Linked DNA regions of Homo sapiens: region 1 is linked to region 2. Evidence: promoter capture Hi-C in 16 types of primary human blood cells and fetal thymus (Javierre and others, 2016). All regions are on one chromosome and are shown on one strand. The core of a region is centred on a gene start or on the middle of the fragment in contact, and the rest is flanking DNA. Distances in the headings are between cores, read along the strand shown.

Region 1 (6,425 bases), core at 1,772-4,271, 100 kb after region 2:
TGGAGTCTCACTCTGTTGCCTGGGCGGGAGTACACTGGCATGATCTTAGCTCATTGCAACCTCCGCCTCCCGGGTTCACTGCATTCTCCTGCCTCAGCCTCCCGAGTAGCTGGGACTACAGGTGCCTGCCACCACGCCCGGCTAATTTTTTGTATTTTTAGTAGAGACGGGGTTTCACTGTGTTAGCCAGGATGGTCTCGATCTCCTGACCTTGTGATCCGCCCGCCTCGGCCTCCCAAAGTGCTGGGATTACAGGCGTGAGCCACCACGCCTGGCCTTAATTCTCAAGAAGATAGTCAGGACCAGGTGAGGTGGCTCATGCTTGTAATCCCAGCACTTTGGGAGCGCACGGCGGGCGGATCACCCGGCCAACATGGTGAAACCCTGTCTCTACTAAAAATACAAAAATTAGCTGAGTGTGGTGGTGCATGCCTGTAATCCCAGCTACTCAGGAGGCTGAGACAGGAGAATCGCTTGGACCCAGGAGACGGTGGTTGCAGTATGCTGAGATCGTGCCACTGCACTCCAGCCTGGGTGACAGAGCAAGACTCTGTCTCAAAAAAAAAAAAAATTCAGAAAAGTAGACAGTTACATTCACTGAAAGGTGTATTCTCTTCCACTTGTCATATCAAGTGTGAAAACCTCTTCTTTCTTTAGTAGTATTGCCAGTAAGAGCAAACAATGCTGGCTGGGCACAGTGGCGCACACCTGTAATCACAGCACTTTAAGAGGCTGAGGCCGGAGGATTGCGTAAGCCCAGGAGTTTGAGACCAGCCTTGGCAATAAGAGTGAAACCTCTCTGCAAAAAATTAGCTGGGTGTGGTGGTACATACCTGTGGTCCCAGCTATTCGGGAAGCTGAGGTGGGAAGATTGCTTAAACCCGGCAGGTCAAGGCTGTAGTGAGCCATGATCATGCCACCGCACTTCAGCCTGGGTGACAGCGAGACTCTTGTCTCAAAAAGAGGAAACAATACAAAGGACTAGGGAAGATGCCAAGTACTTCACATTTAATAGCAACTGCTACCCTTTGAAGTAAACCTGATTATTCCTATTAGTTAGATGAGGAAACAGGCACAGAATGGTTGAGTAACTTTCACAAGATTACAAAGCTACCATATTTCATCTAAATGCTTCTAATTATAATTTTAAGATAACATTGGTTATAAAAAGAGACGTGAAGCCGGGCGTGGTGGGTCACACCTGTAATCCCAGCACTTTGGGAGGCCGAGGCGGGTGGATCACCTGAGGTCGAGAGTTCAAGAACAGCCTGACCAACATGGAGAAACCCCATCTCTACTAAAAATACAAAATTAGCCAGGCATTTTGGCGCATGCCTGTAATCCCAGCTACTCAGGAGGCTGAGGCAGGAGAATCACTTGAATCCGGGAGGCGGAGCTTGCGGTGAGCCGAGATCGCGCCATTACACTCCAGCCTGGGCAACAAGAGCGAAACTCCATCTCAAAAACAAGAAAAAAAGAGATGTGAAAAATACAAAAAACAAATGTGTGTCTTTGAATCTGTAAAATATGGTACAGAGCCAGGATTCAAACCCAGGCGGTCTGGCTCCCAAATCTGTGCCACATTGCCTCTTTAAGTAGTAATATTCAAGTCTTTTCTGTTTTACTCTCTTAGCAGTGGAAGACAGGAAGCTGTTTATTGGTATGATTTCCAAGAAGTGCACTGAAAATGACATCCGAGTCATGTTCTCTTCGTTTGGACAGATTGAAGAATGCCGGATATTGCGGGGACCTGATGGCCTGAGCCGAGGTAGGTAGTTTTAGCTTTTAAATAATCTTTTGGTTTTTTGTTTTGGTTTGGTTTGGGGTTTTTTTTTTTTTGGAGACAAGGTCTTGCTCTCTCTCACCCAGGCTGGAGTGCAGTGGTGCCTTCACAACTCACTGCAGCCTGAACCTCCCAGGATCAGCCTCCTGAGTAGCTGGGACCACAGGCATGCATCATGACACCCAGCTAATTTTTAAATTTTTTATAGAGAAAAGGTCTCCCTGTGTTGCCCAGGCTGGTCTTGAACTCCTGGACTCAAACGATCCTGTCATCTTGGCCTCCCAAAGTGCCAGGATTGTAGGTGTGAGCCACTGCACCGGGCTTGGAATCTTTTTAATTTGACCGGTGGAAACTAGCAACAGTGATTCCCTAGCCAATATGGCCCAGTCAAGATAAAGAGGTTGGGCCTGCTGCTTCCTGCTGTATATCTATGTCCTGTCTTGACTCCTCCTATCAGTTCATTCTTTTTGTCTCCCAGCCCCTCTAAGGAGTCTACATTCTATATTTCATTGTCATGTATTAAAATTTTCTCTTTTGGTGCTTTGCAAGATCCTTGATGCCAAAATGGAAATACTTTCTTCTTCCATTTTCTTTTATTTTCAAGAGGAACTAGAGGATATGAGTCCTCCTTTCTCCTGTCAAGCATTTTTTTTTTCTGTCAGTGGTTCTGTTTTTTCATTATAGCACATATCACCCTGTTGCAACATACCAGCACATGATTCCCTGAAAACAGGGACTGTGTCTGTATTGCTAGCATGATAGTCAGCACATAGTAGGTGCTCAGTTAATGTTTGTCAGAGAAATAAATGAATGCATGAGTTACTGACTCTTCTCTTACCAGGTTGTGCATTTGTGACTTTTACAACAAGAGCCATGGCACAGACGGCTATCAAGGCAATGCACCAAGCACAGACCATGGAGGTAGGGAGCAGATAGGTGATGGGGAAAATTCCTCAGCTTGGGAATGCTGGGACAGTTGGCCATTAAAGTCCAGCAGCATGTGCAGCATCTGATTGCCCAGAAGGTTAAACAGCCAACATCTTAAAGTTAAAAACCACTGATTTCTTTAAAATTAACGTATTGGAAATGCTCTCCCTACCCCTTTTTTTGAGATGGGGTCTTACTTTGTCACCTGGGCTGGAGTGCAGTGGGAATATCATGGCTCACTGCAGCCCCAACCACCCAGGCTCAAGTGATCCCCCCTACCTCTGCCACTCAAGTAGCTGGGACTACAGGTGCACACCAGCACGCCCAGTTAATTTTTGTATTTTTTTTTAATAGCGACCGTTTTGCCATGTTGCCCAGGCTGGTCTAAAATTCCTGGGCTCAAGTGATCCACCCGCCTCAGCCTCCCAAAGTGTTGGGATTACAGTCTCTTCTCTCTTGTGTCTATCATGAGGAGAATCATTTGGCAGTGAATGAAATTAGAATGTAACCTGCATGTCATCCAAAAGGAAGATTTTTTTTCTTCTTTTCAGATGGAGGAATTTGACCCTTTCGTTATGGTCTTTTCACAGGGTTGCTCATCACCCATGGTGGTAAAATTTGCTGATACACAGAAGGACAAAGAACAGAAGAGAATGGCCCAGCAGCTCCAGCAGCAGATGCAGCAAATCAGCGCAGCATCTGTGTGGGGAAACCTTGCTGGTCTAAATACTCTTGGACCCCAGTATTTAGCAGTGAGTCTTTGTGGTTTGCTTTCTGCAGACTGTGCAAGCTCCCAGCTGTTCCTTCTTCTGCTGTCCCTAGCCAACAAACACAGTGGCATTTACAACTTTTGGCATATAGAAATTATATGTAAAAATTCAGGTAGTACTATTTCTTTTAGTCCTGTTAGTCTCTTTCTCTCTCTATATATATGTATCTCTGGACATGCATCTCTGGTTATATCTTGAGGCTTTTGCTGCAACTAAAGTGAATTCCTGGTTTCCCGTTTTAAAGATTTAGAAACATCTTGTGTCCTTGCCTCCAAGAAAGAAATTCCTGAGGGAATCTTAACTACCAGTGTCTTTCTCCATATCTCTTTCTACCAGATGTAGAGGGCATCATTAAAATCCTTATTGAGTCTTTCCTAAAGAGTATGATAAATGTTTCTTTCAGCGGACTTGAGAGATCAAGAGATTTTTTTTCTTTTTTTGCTTTATTTATTTATTTATTTATTTATTTTTTGAGACGGAGTCTCACTCACTCTGTCACCCAGGCTAGAGTGCAGTGGCACAATCTTGGCTTACTGCAACCTCCACCTCGGGTTCAAGTGATTCTCCTGCCTCAACTTCCCAAGTAGCTGGGACTACAGACACACACCATCACACCCAGCTAATTTTTGTATTTCTAGTAGGGATGGGCTTTCACTGTGTTGGCCAGGCTGGTCTCGAACTCACGACCTCAGGTGATCCACCTGTCTTGGCCTCCCAAAGTGCTGGGTTTACAGGTGTGAGCCACTGCGCCTGGCGGAGATCAAGAGATTAACATGAACATTTTTAAATGAGCATTACAGGTGTATATTCAAGTTTACTACATTGTAAATAGACTTCCTTTAATTTGATCTCTCTGTTGTCGTGAGCCAAAAGAAGGTTGTCTAGTCCAAAAGAAGGTCTCGCCCCAATTTGTGATTTAGATTTACTAGGTCTGCAGTGTATATGTTACAGGGGATTATTAATGGAAAAGAATTGGGCCAGCACAAGACAGTTAAAACCACCCATTTGTGAGTCAAAGAGGAAAAAGGTCATCTTAGGCTATTAATGGTGAAACCACTAGATTTGTATGGATGATACAAAAATATTCACATAGAAATAGCTAGTATAGTCATTTATTCCTCATCATTTCAAGTATTATTCTGTATGGAAACAGACAAAAGGCACTGATTTCTGTCTCCCAGTACTGAATTTTGGTTTAGTTCCAGTGGTTTTCATATTTCTAATATCTTATAAGAAATCCCAGTTTAGGCCGGGCGCTGTGACTCACGCCTGTAATCCCAACACTTTGGGAGGCTGAGGTGAGTGGATCGCCTGAGGTTGGGAGTTTGAGACCAGCCTGGCCAGCATGGTGAAACCCTGTCTATACTAAAAATACAAAAAAATTACATGGGTGTGGTGGCAGGTGCCTGTAATCCCAGCTGCTCGGGAAGCTGAGGCAGGAGAATGGCTTGAACCTGGGAGGCGGAGGTTGCACTGAGCGGAGGTTGCAGTGAGCCAAGATCGCACCATTGCACTCCAGCCTGGGCAATAGAGCGAGACTCTGTCTCACAAAAAAAAAAAAAAAAAAAAAAAAAGAAGAAGAAAAAAAAAAAAAACCCCAGTTTATCCTAGCTAGTATTTCTCTGAAGTTTTTTTAAAAAAATATAAAGAGTTGGGGTTGTTTTGTTTTGTTTTGTTTTGAAGCCTCGCTCTGTTGCCCAGGTTGGAAAACAGTGGCGCAATCTCTGCTCACTGCAACCTCCAACTGCAAGCAGCTGGGATTACAGTCATGTGCCACCACGCCTGGCTAATTTTTGTAGTTTTAGTAGAGACAGGGTTTTGCTTATGTGAGCCAGGCTGGTCTCAAACTCCCGACCTCAAGTGATTTGCCTACCTTGCCCTCCCAAAGTTCTGGGATTACAGGCGTGAACCACTGGGTCCGGTTATATTTCAACAGAAAAAATTGTTTCTTAGTGCTGAAACATTGCTTATATGTTCAGAAAATTCAGGGAGGTTTTAGTCATCTGCAGAAATGATAATGCTTTGAAAATGGTCTACATGCTATGCATTTGCTTTTCTTAGAGACTTTTGGAGCCCCCCTTTAGGGAAGGTTAACCTTTTTGTTGTCATTGCCACTACCAGCAAGTACATGATGGCATGTGTTGAGAGCTGTGTTCTCTTTGTTTTGGTTAGACATGATTCCTGCCCTAAGAGCTAATCTCATTTGGAGGGAAATGAAGGGACCAAGTACAGTATTCACCGTCCACCAGTTAGGACTGAACACATAGCCCAAGGTGTTTAAGAAGAAAAAGGCCAGGCGCGGTGGCTTATGCCTGTAATCCCAGCATTTTGGGAAGCCGAGGCAGGCAAATCACCTGAGGTTAGGAGTTTGAGACCAGCCTGACCAACATGGTGAAACCCCGTCTCTACTAAAAATACAAAAATTAGCTGGGTGTGATGGTACACACCTGTGGTCCCAGCTACTCGGGAGGCTGAGGCAGGAGAATCGCTTGAACCTGGAAGGCGGAGGTTGCAGTGAGCTGAGATCACCATTGTACTCCAGCCTGGCGACAGAGCGAGACTCCGTCTCAAAAAAAAAAAAAAAAAAGTGTAGACGTGGGTGCTAGTGGACTGTGTGATAGTACATCATCATTAATTATGAGGTTCTTTCTGGACTATGTGGACTTGAGTTAGCCAGGCTCTACTGTCCTGGAGGAGTTGGTTTTTATCTTTTTATCCTTTGAGAAGCGGGGGGAAAGGGTGTATAGGTGCATTTTTTCCCCCATTCTGTTCCTGGAGGTTTGTAGACCTCCTGAAACTTATCCATGGTCTCTAGCCTGGAAGGATTTGCGGCGACAGAGAAACCAGGTCAGATGTTTATAGGAATGGGAAACAGGTTGAATAAAAGGATCCTGTACAAGAATACCAATTTTCCATAAACAATACTAATTGGGTTTAGTTGGAGC
Region 2 (6,304 bases), core at 1,798-4,297:
CGCGCCTGGACTCTGCCAATAAAGCGGAAAGCGGGCACGCGCAGCGCCCGGCAGCCCAGGCCCCTGCGCTGTCTTGACTGCGACGCATTCGCCGGCGGCAGGCGGGAAGGTGCTGACTACTGCGGGCCCGCAGGCCCGGGGAAGGGGTTGGAGGTTGGAAAGCAAGGTCCCCTTGGACCCTGGGAGGGTGAGGAGGTGGGAATTTGATGGAACCACATTCGCCTAGTCCGTTGGGGGCCTCCCTTTTATATCCCTACCTCGTCTAGCCCTCTGACTCATCATTGACCTACGACCTCAGCCTTAGCCCCCGGCTGATGCCTTTCTGTGACAAGGAACAGCACCCCATTACCCCACAGGGTGCATGGGATTCAAGGAAACAGTGCATTCCTTCTTCCAGCAGGGCGTGGGAATGAGATGAGGAGTTGATACCTGGTTGCCCTGACTCTTGCCTTCCCGGGATGGGGAGAGTGATTTGCCCAGAGCAGGGGTTAGACGCTTATTCCGACATAGAATGACACAGGCTCCAGGAGGCCGAAACAGAACATTTTATGAGAAGAGCAACACAGAATCAGGGCCACACCTGCTCCAGCCCACCTCCGCTTGTCTCTCCTTGGTCTCCCAGCCTTACTCCCCCCTCTGAGGTATTCACCCGACGCTTGTTGAGATATTGCCTCCCTACCCCAAAAGAGATAATGTTCCTCCCTCCCCCTGCTTCCCTCCACTCTTCCAACTGACAGAACTCAAAAAGTCGATTCTCCCAACCCAGATGGGAACTTGGAGGCTCAGAGACCCCAAATCCTTGGTTGTGCCTAAAAGGGGATGCTCAGCACCTAGAGGATTCCTGTGAATTCCACAGGACCTGTCACAGACTGCCAGGGTAGGAGTTGGAAGGTCTGACCAGGCCTTACTTGGGGCAGCTTCCCTTCAGCATCTCTTGAACACACTTCTCAACCCTGACCCCTGATCTCCACACACACACACACACACACACACACACACACACACTCACACACACACTGCCTGCAAGTCGTGCCCTTAGCTCTGTGCCCACTCCTTGCGCACTCCTTGCGACCCAGAGCCTGGGTTCTTAGCCTCTCAAGATCTAGGAAACAAGATCTGGTCGGGGTAAGCAGAGAGGGGGTGTCCAGGGTGCAAGCCAAGCCCAGAGATCTGAACACGGTGAAAAGAATCAGATGCCAGACAGAAGCCCCTGCGCAAGATGGGTCTGCCTGGGGGGTTGAGGAGGAGATGGGAGGGGGTAATGGCAGGTGAAAGAACAAAAGAGGAGGGTCAGGGGAAGGGGTCAAGGATGGAGGCCCAGGACCCCAGGGAAGGGGGCCGGTCCTGGGGGCAGAAACCTTTGCACAGGTCCCAGAGTGTTTCCTGTGCCAGGAGAGCGAAGACCTGGGCCCAGCGGCCCCGTTCCTCAGCCTCACTAGCTGCGTGGAGCCGGTAGACGCAGGACAGGCCTGTGAGGAGCAGATGTTCAAAGTCCCAAGTGCTAAGAGGAGGCCCCTTCCGCAGGTCCTGGAGCTGCTGCAGCCACTGCTCAGTGCCCTCCAAGTCACTGGGCACGTGGTGCTGCAGGAGGAGTCTGAGTCGGCGGCCTGGGTGTGTGGACGCTAGTTCCTCATCCTGGATGTGCAGCTGCCCCATGACATCCAGCTCCAGCCCAGCCCAGAGCAGCTGCAAGGGGAGCCATGTAAGGGGTGGGCTGTGGCCTGGGGAGCAGGGCAGGGAGCAAGAGTGGGCTGGGGGAAGGGGCAGAAGCAGGCAGCAGGACGCATGCTGGCTTGCCCCACCCAACCCTAGCAGGTCCACCCTGAGACATCCCCCTTCCCAACCCTGAGCTTAGGGACCTCTGGACGTGCCCACCCCCATGTCCCAGGCTGGGAGGAAAGACCTCAAACATCACTTCCGGGGCCTCTGGCTCCTGCAGGCCACCTCCCACGCTGGTGCTGTCCATGGGCTGCCCTGGGGCAGCAGAGAGGAGTCAGGCCCCTGCCATGCTACACCATGAACACCCCAGCCTCCCAGAAGTGCCCCTCTGCTGCCTGGTAGAGGTCCCGAGTGCTTCATCATTCTACAAAAGGGCAGGAATGCCATCCCATGCCCTCCTTTCCCCTCCCTCTCACGCACACACATGCACATTGACATTCACCCTCCCAGGCATAGGTCCTCTGATCTCAAAAGCATCATTCCAAGCCCAGTTACCATGTTGGCAAATGCCCAGGACACCTCCTTTAAATTGCACAATGCCCTTGTTAAAGAGCTCCAGGCCAACGGGTCACAAGACCCTTCCCCACCCTCCTCCCCTCCCTATAGTCATCTGAGGATAAAGTCACCTAAAACAGTGCCAGTGACTCTCCCAAGGACAAAGACCTCTTTGGAAAGAGCCTACTCTCCCTGCTCCTCCTCAGCAGTAAGGGAGGGAGGAGGAAGACAGGGCAGGGAGGACAGAGCAGGGGAGGATGTGAGGCAGGGAGGACGGGGCAGGGGAGGATGTGAGGCAGGGAGGACAGAGCAGGGGAGGATGTCTGTGGCAGCTCCGTCCGGCCCACACCTTGGGGTGTTGCCTCACCCTTGCAATGTTTGTTCCAAGCCCAGGCAGGTCAAGAGACCCTGCTTTGGGCATCAGTGGGAATGAGCCCAGGGCCAGCATTAAGAGCACCTAGGGCTATCTCCCTAGGTGTCACCTGTACCTTTCCAGTTCTGGGGGTGGGGCCCACACTGTCACCCACCACAGCACACATCAGCCTGGTACCCACCATGCCCACGCTTCTATGCCCGACTAGCCTCAAATAGAGCCAACTGTTAACTGCTGTCAGCCAGCAGCCTTGGCTCCTCTCCACCCACCCTGAAGCCTGGTACCTGCATGGGGCTGGGTTGTAGTCACACCAGAGAGGAGACAAATGGCTACCACCAGGCAAACCAGGAACTGCAGGGTCGCAGCCATGCTCAACCACGTCCTCTGAGTCTCACTCTGTTCAGCAGTTCTCTGCTCCCTCATCTGCCTGCCACACACCTCAGCTCCAACTTTCCACTGCGGGCTGCTCCAGAGCTCTGTAATGCGTGTCATTCTTCAGTGCTGAACAGGGAGGGGCTGGCTGTGGCCTCGGTCACCTCCCAGGGGCTCTTTCCATCCTTTAGAAATGGGGAATCTTTGGTTGTTGGCAGGAGCCTGGCTCCCTGCTTGTCAGGCCCTCAGCCTGTTCCTGCCCAGCTGGGCGGTATGCTTAGTTAATAGGAAAAAGGTGTTTGGTAGCAAATAGCTGTAGCTTGGCCCTCCCAAAGGGTAGGAAAGAGCTCAGGCAGTAAGACCATCTTACTGTCTGCGCCCTCAAAATATCCTGCGACTGAGGCCAGCCCCGACACCCAGTCTGGCCCAGCCCAGCCTCCAAGGAGCCCCTCAGCTGCCAAAAGCATCAGCTGCAAAGTCTTCCAACTGCATGGTGGGCTGGCTGGGCGGCCCCACAGACAGGCAGAGCCAAGCACTCCCCTCTCAGGCACTCTGCCGCAGGCTGGACAGACAGATCAGCTGGGCTAGGGCGTATTGTCCCCTGGCAGACAGACAAATCTGCAGCTCCTGAGTGGTTTTTGCCCCAGCCCTGGGACCTCTTGTTTCCTAGCAACATTCTTAATTCAGAGCGGGCACGGTGGCTCATGCCTGTAATCCCAGCACTTTAGGAGGGCAAGACAGGAGGATGGCTTGAGCCCAGGAGTTCAAGACCAGCCTGGGCAACATGGTGAGCCCTCATCTCTACAAATAAATTAGCTGGGTATGGTGGTACACACCTGTGGTCCTAGCTACTCAGGAGGCTGAGGTGGGAGGATCACCTGAGCCCAGGCAGTCTAGACTGCAGTGAACCACGATCACACTGCTGTACTCACTCTAGCCTAGGTGACAGACCAAGACCCTGTCTCAAAAAACCCCCACCAGCCTGGCGCGGTGGCTCACGCCTGTAATCCCAGCACTCTGGGAGGCCGAGGCGGGCAGATCACCTGAGGTCGGGAGTTTGAGACCAGCCTGACCAACATGGAGAAACCCCATCTCTACTAAAAATACAAAATTGGCCGGGCGTGGTGGCGCAAGCCTGTAATCCCAGCTACTCGGGAGGCTGAGGCAGAGTTGCTTGAACCCGGGAGGCGGCGGTCACAGTGAACCAAGATCATGCCATTGCACTCCAGCCTGTGCAACAATAGCAAAACTCCATCTCAAAAAAAAAAAAAAAAGAAGAAGAAAAAAAGAACCCCACCATTCTCAGCTCAGGCCAGAAACCAGGGAGATTCCTGTAGCCCAAGAGTGATTGGCTACCATGCCACACCCATCCTGAACCCTGTGGACTGTGAGAACTTTCAGTTACAGCTCCAGAATCCCTCTCAGAAATACATCCATGCCTGCAGGCCACCACGTCTGCAACTACACTCTTTAGTCCCATTAAAATAGACCTCCGGCTGAGTGTGGTGGCTCACGCCTATAATCCCAGCACTTTGGGAGGCCAGTGTGGATCATTTGAGGCCAGGAGTTCGAGACCAGCCTGGGCAACATGGTGAAATCCCATCTCTACAAAAACTATAAAAACTAGCTGGGCGTGGTGGCGTGCATCTGTAATCCCAGCTTCTTGGGAGGCTGAGGGGGGAGAACCGCTTGGGCCTGGGAGGTGGAGGTTGCAGCGAGCTGCGACAGCACCACTGCACTCCAGCCTGGGTGACAGAGCGAGACTCCATCTCAAAAAAACATAAAAGAGCTGGTCACAGTGGCTCACGCCTATAATTCCAGCACTTTGGGAGGCCGAAGCAGACAGATCACCTGAGGTCAGGAGTTCAAGAACAGCCTGACCAATATGGAGAAACCCCGTCTTTACTAAAAATACAAAATTAGCCAGGTGTGGTGGCACACACCTGTAATCCCAGCTACTCGGGAGGCTGAGGCAAGAGAATTACTTGAACCCAGGAGGCGGAGGTTGTGGTGAGCCGAGATCACGCCATTGTACTCCAGCCTCGGCAACAAGAGCGAAACACTGTCTCAAAAAAAAAAAAAAAAACCCATCAAAGACTCCCTGGTTTAGTAGTGCCTCTCTAAGAGAGCAGGGAAACACCCCTGCCTGCCTGTGTCCCCCCCAAAGCATCACTTCTCCACATTACAAGCACACACAAAGTGGTAAGTCTAAGTAGGAATTTATTTACACGGACACTCAATCATAGATAAGGCGCTGTCTAGGATCCACATGCGTTCCCTGGAGCTACTTGGCATCAGGCTTCTTGTCTCCGGCTTCAAGCTTGAGACTCTCCGGGGGTTGGCGATAGACTGGGAAAGCCTCCCAGGGGCTGTTCAGGTCAAATTTGCGGAACTCTTGGGCCAACTCCACCGGCTCTGCCACCACCCGCTTCACTTCATCATCATAACGTAACTGCAGGAGCAAAAGGCAGGCTTGAGCACTAAGGAAGTCCTTATTATAGCTACACAGGAGCCTACTTTTCACAAGGCTATTGGTGACTTCCCCAGCCCATTCCTCTCGGTTACTGACTCCTGTCCCAGCCTCTGTCAGTAAGTCTCCATCCATACCTGTGTTACCCGTCAGATCACATCCCAACCAGCTAGAGTGTGTGATTCCAAAATGTAGGATACCTCTCATGCCCTGCCAGCACCAGTCAGATTCCCCTGCTCACCACTCCCACATCAGGAGCTCCGAACTGACTGCTCACCCACCCACACACTCTTACAAGGTAATGGTAAGCATTTGCCCAGGATTAGGGAGTAGTCGGTGGCTGAAAAGAGTAAACCTAAACTGGCAGATACACAACCTCAGGCCCGGTGCCCTTGGCATATTCACAGTCCAGATCTAAAGCAGTACATTTGACACAGCTTTTCTTGTTACTTGGGGATCAAATGGATAAGGTAAGGATCATCAGGTGCTAGAGTGAAGAGGCAAACCAGGTGAGGCAGATAGCAGGAGTGGGGTGAAAGGGAGAAGCGAGGGAGATAGCCCTGCCCAGAAGTAGCCCAAGAGGGAAATAGGAGCATGCAAAGCACTAACACAGCAGGAGTGACTGGGAACTAAAAGAGCAGGGCTGGAGCACCACATCTCTGCATTTCTAAACAGTTACTTTGCTATAAAATTCACGAGTGATAATATTACACACTATCTTCCTGCAAATAACCTGCAGCACCACTGAAATTCTTTATTCACGTTACTGGTCCCACCTCAGAGGTAATTTTTGAGGGCTAAGCATCTGGTGTCTTCCCCGTCACTGCCTTCCCAGAGAGTCAGGGCAGGGTAAAATAATCCTCTACTTTCAGGTT

Evidence for each region. The method cuts DNA at HindIII sites, captures the fragments that hold promoters and counts their contacts. A CHiCAGO score of 5 or more calls a contact.
Region 1: a fragment that was not itself captured here is called in contact with the fragment with the promoter of FAM180B in region 2 in 5 of 17 cell types (M2 macrophages, M1 macrophages, M0 macrophages and 2 more); the score reaches 12.0 in M2 macrophages.

Annotation. Positions count from the first base shown.
Region 1 is chr11:47,479,732-47,486,156 of GRCh38, reverse strand. CELF1 (CUGBP Elav-like family member 1) reads left to right here. Exons shown (of 15, transcript NM_001376376.1): 7 at 1,634-1,768; 8 at 2,625-2,704; 9 at 3,301-3,462. Among named protein-coding and RNA genes, the nearest start is that of RAPSN, 34 kb to the right of the region's middle. The HindIII fragment of the contact is 9,324 bases long and covers 1-6,425 here.
Region 2 is chr11:47,583,421-47,589,724 of GRCh38, reverse strand. It overlaps FAM180B (family with sequence similarity 180 member B), which reads right to left and starts at 3,047. Exons shown (of 3, transcript NM_001164379.3): 1 at 2,872-3,047; 2 at 1,904-1,974; 3 at 531-1,686. The coding sequence starts at 2,956. The coding sequence ends at 1,291. It overlaps NDUFS3 (NADH:ubiquinone oxidoreductase core subunit S3), which reads right to left. Exons shown (of 7, transcript NM_004551.3): 7 at 5,163-5,411. The coding sequence ends at 5,244. It overlaps C1QTNF4 (C1q and TNF related 4), which reads left to right. Exons shown (of 2, transcript NM_031909.3): 2 at 1-58. RefSeq lists silencers at 317-517, 2,142-2,342. The HindIII fragment of the contact is 7,265 bases long and covers 1-5,281 here.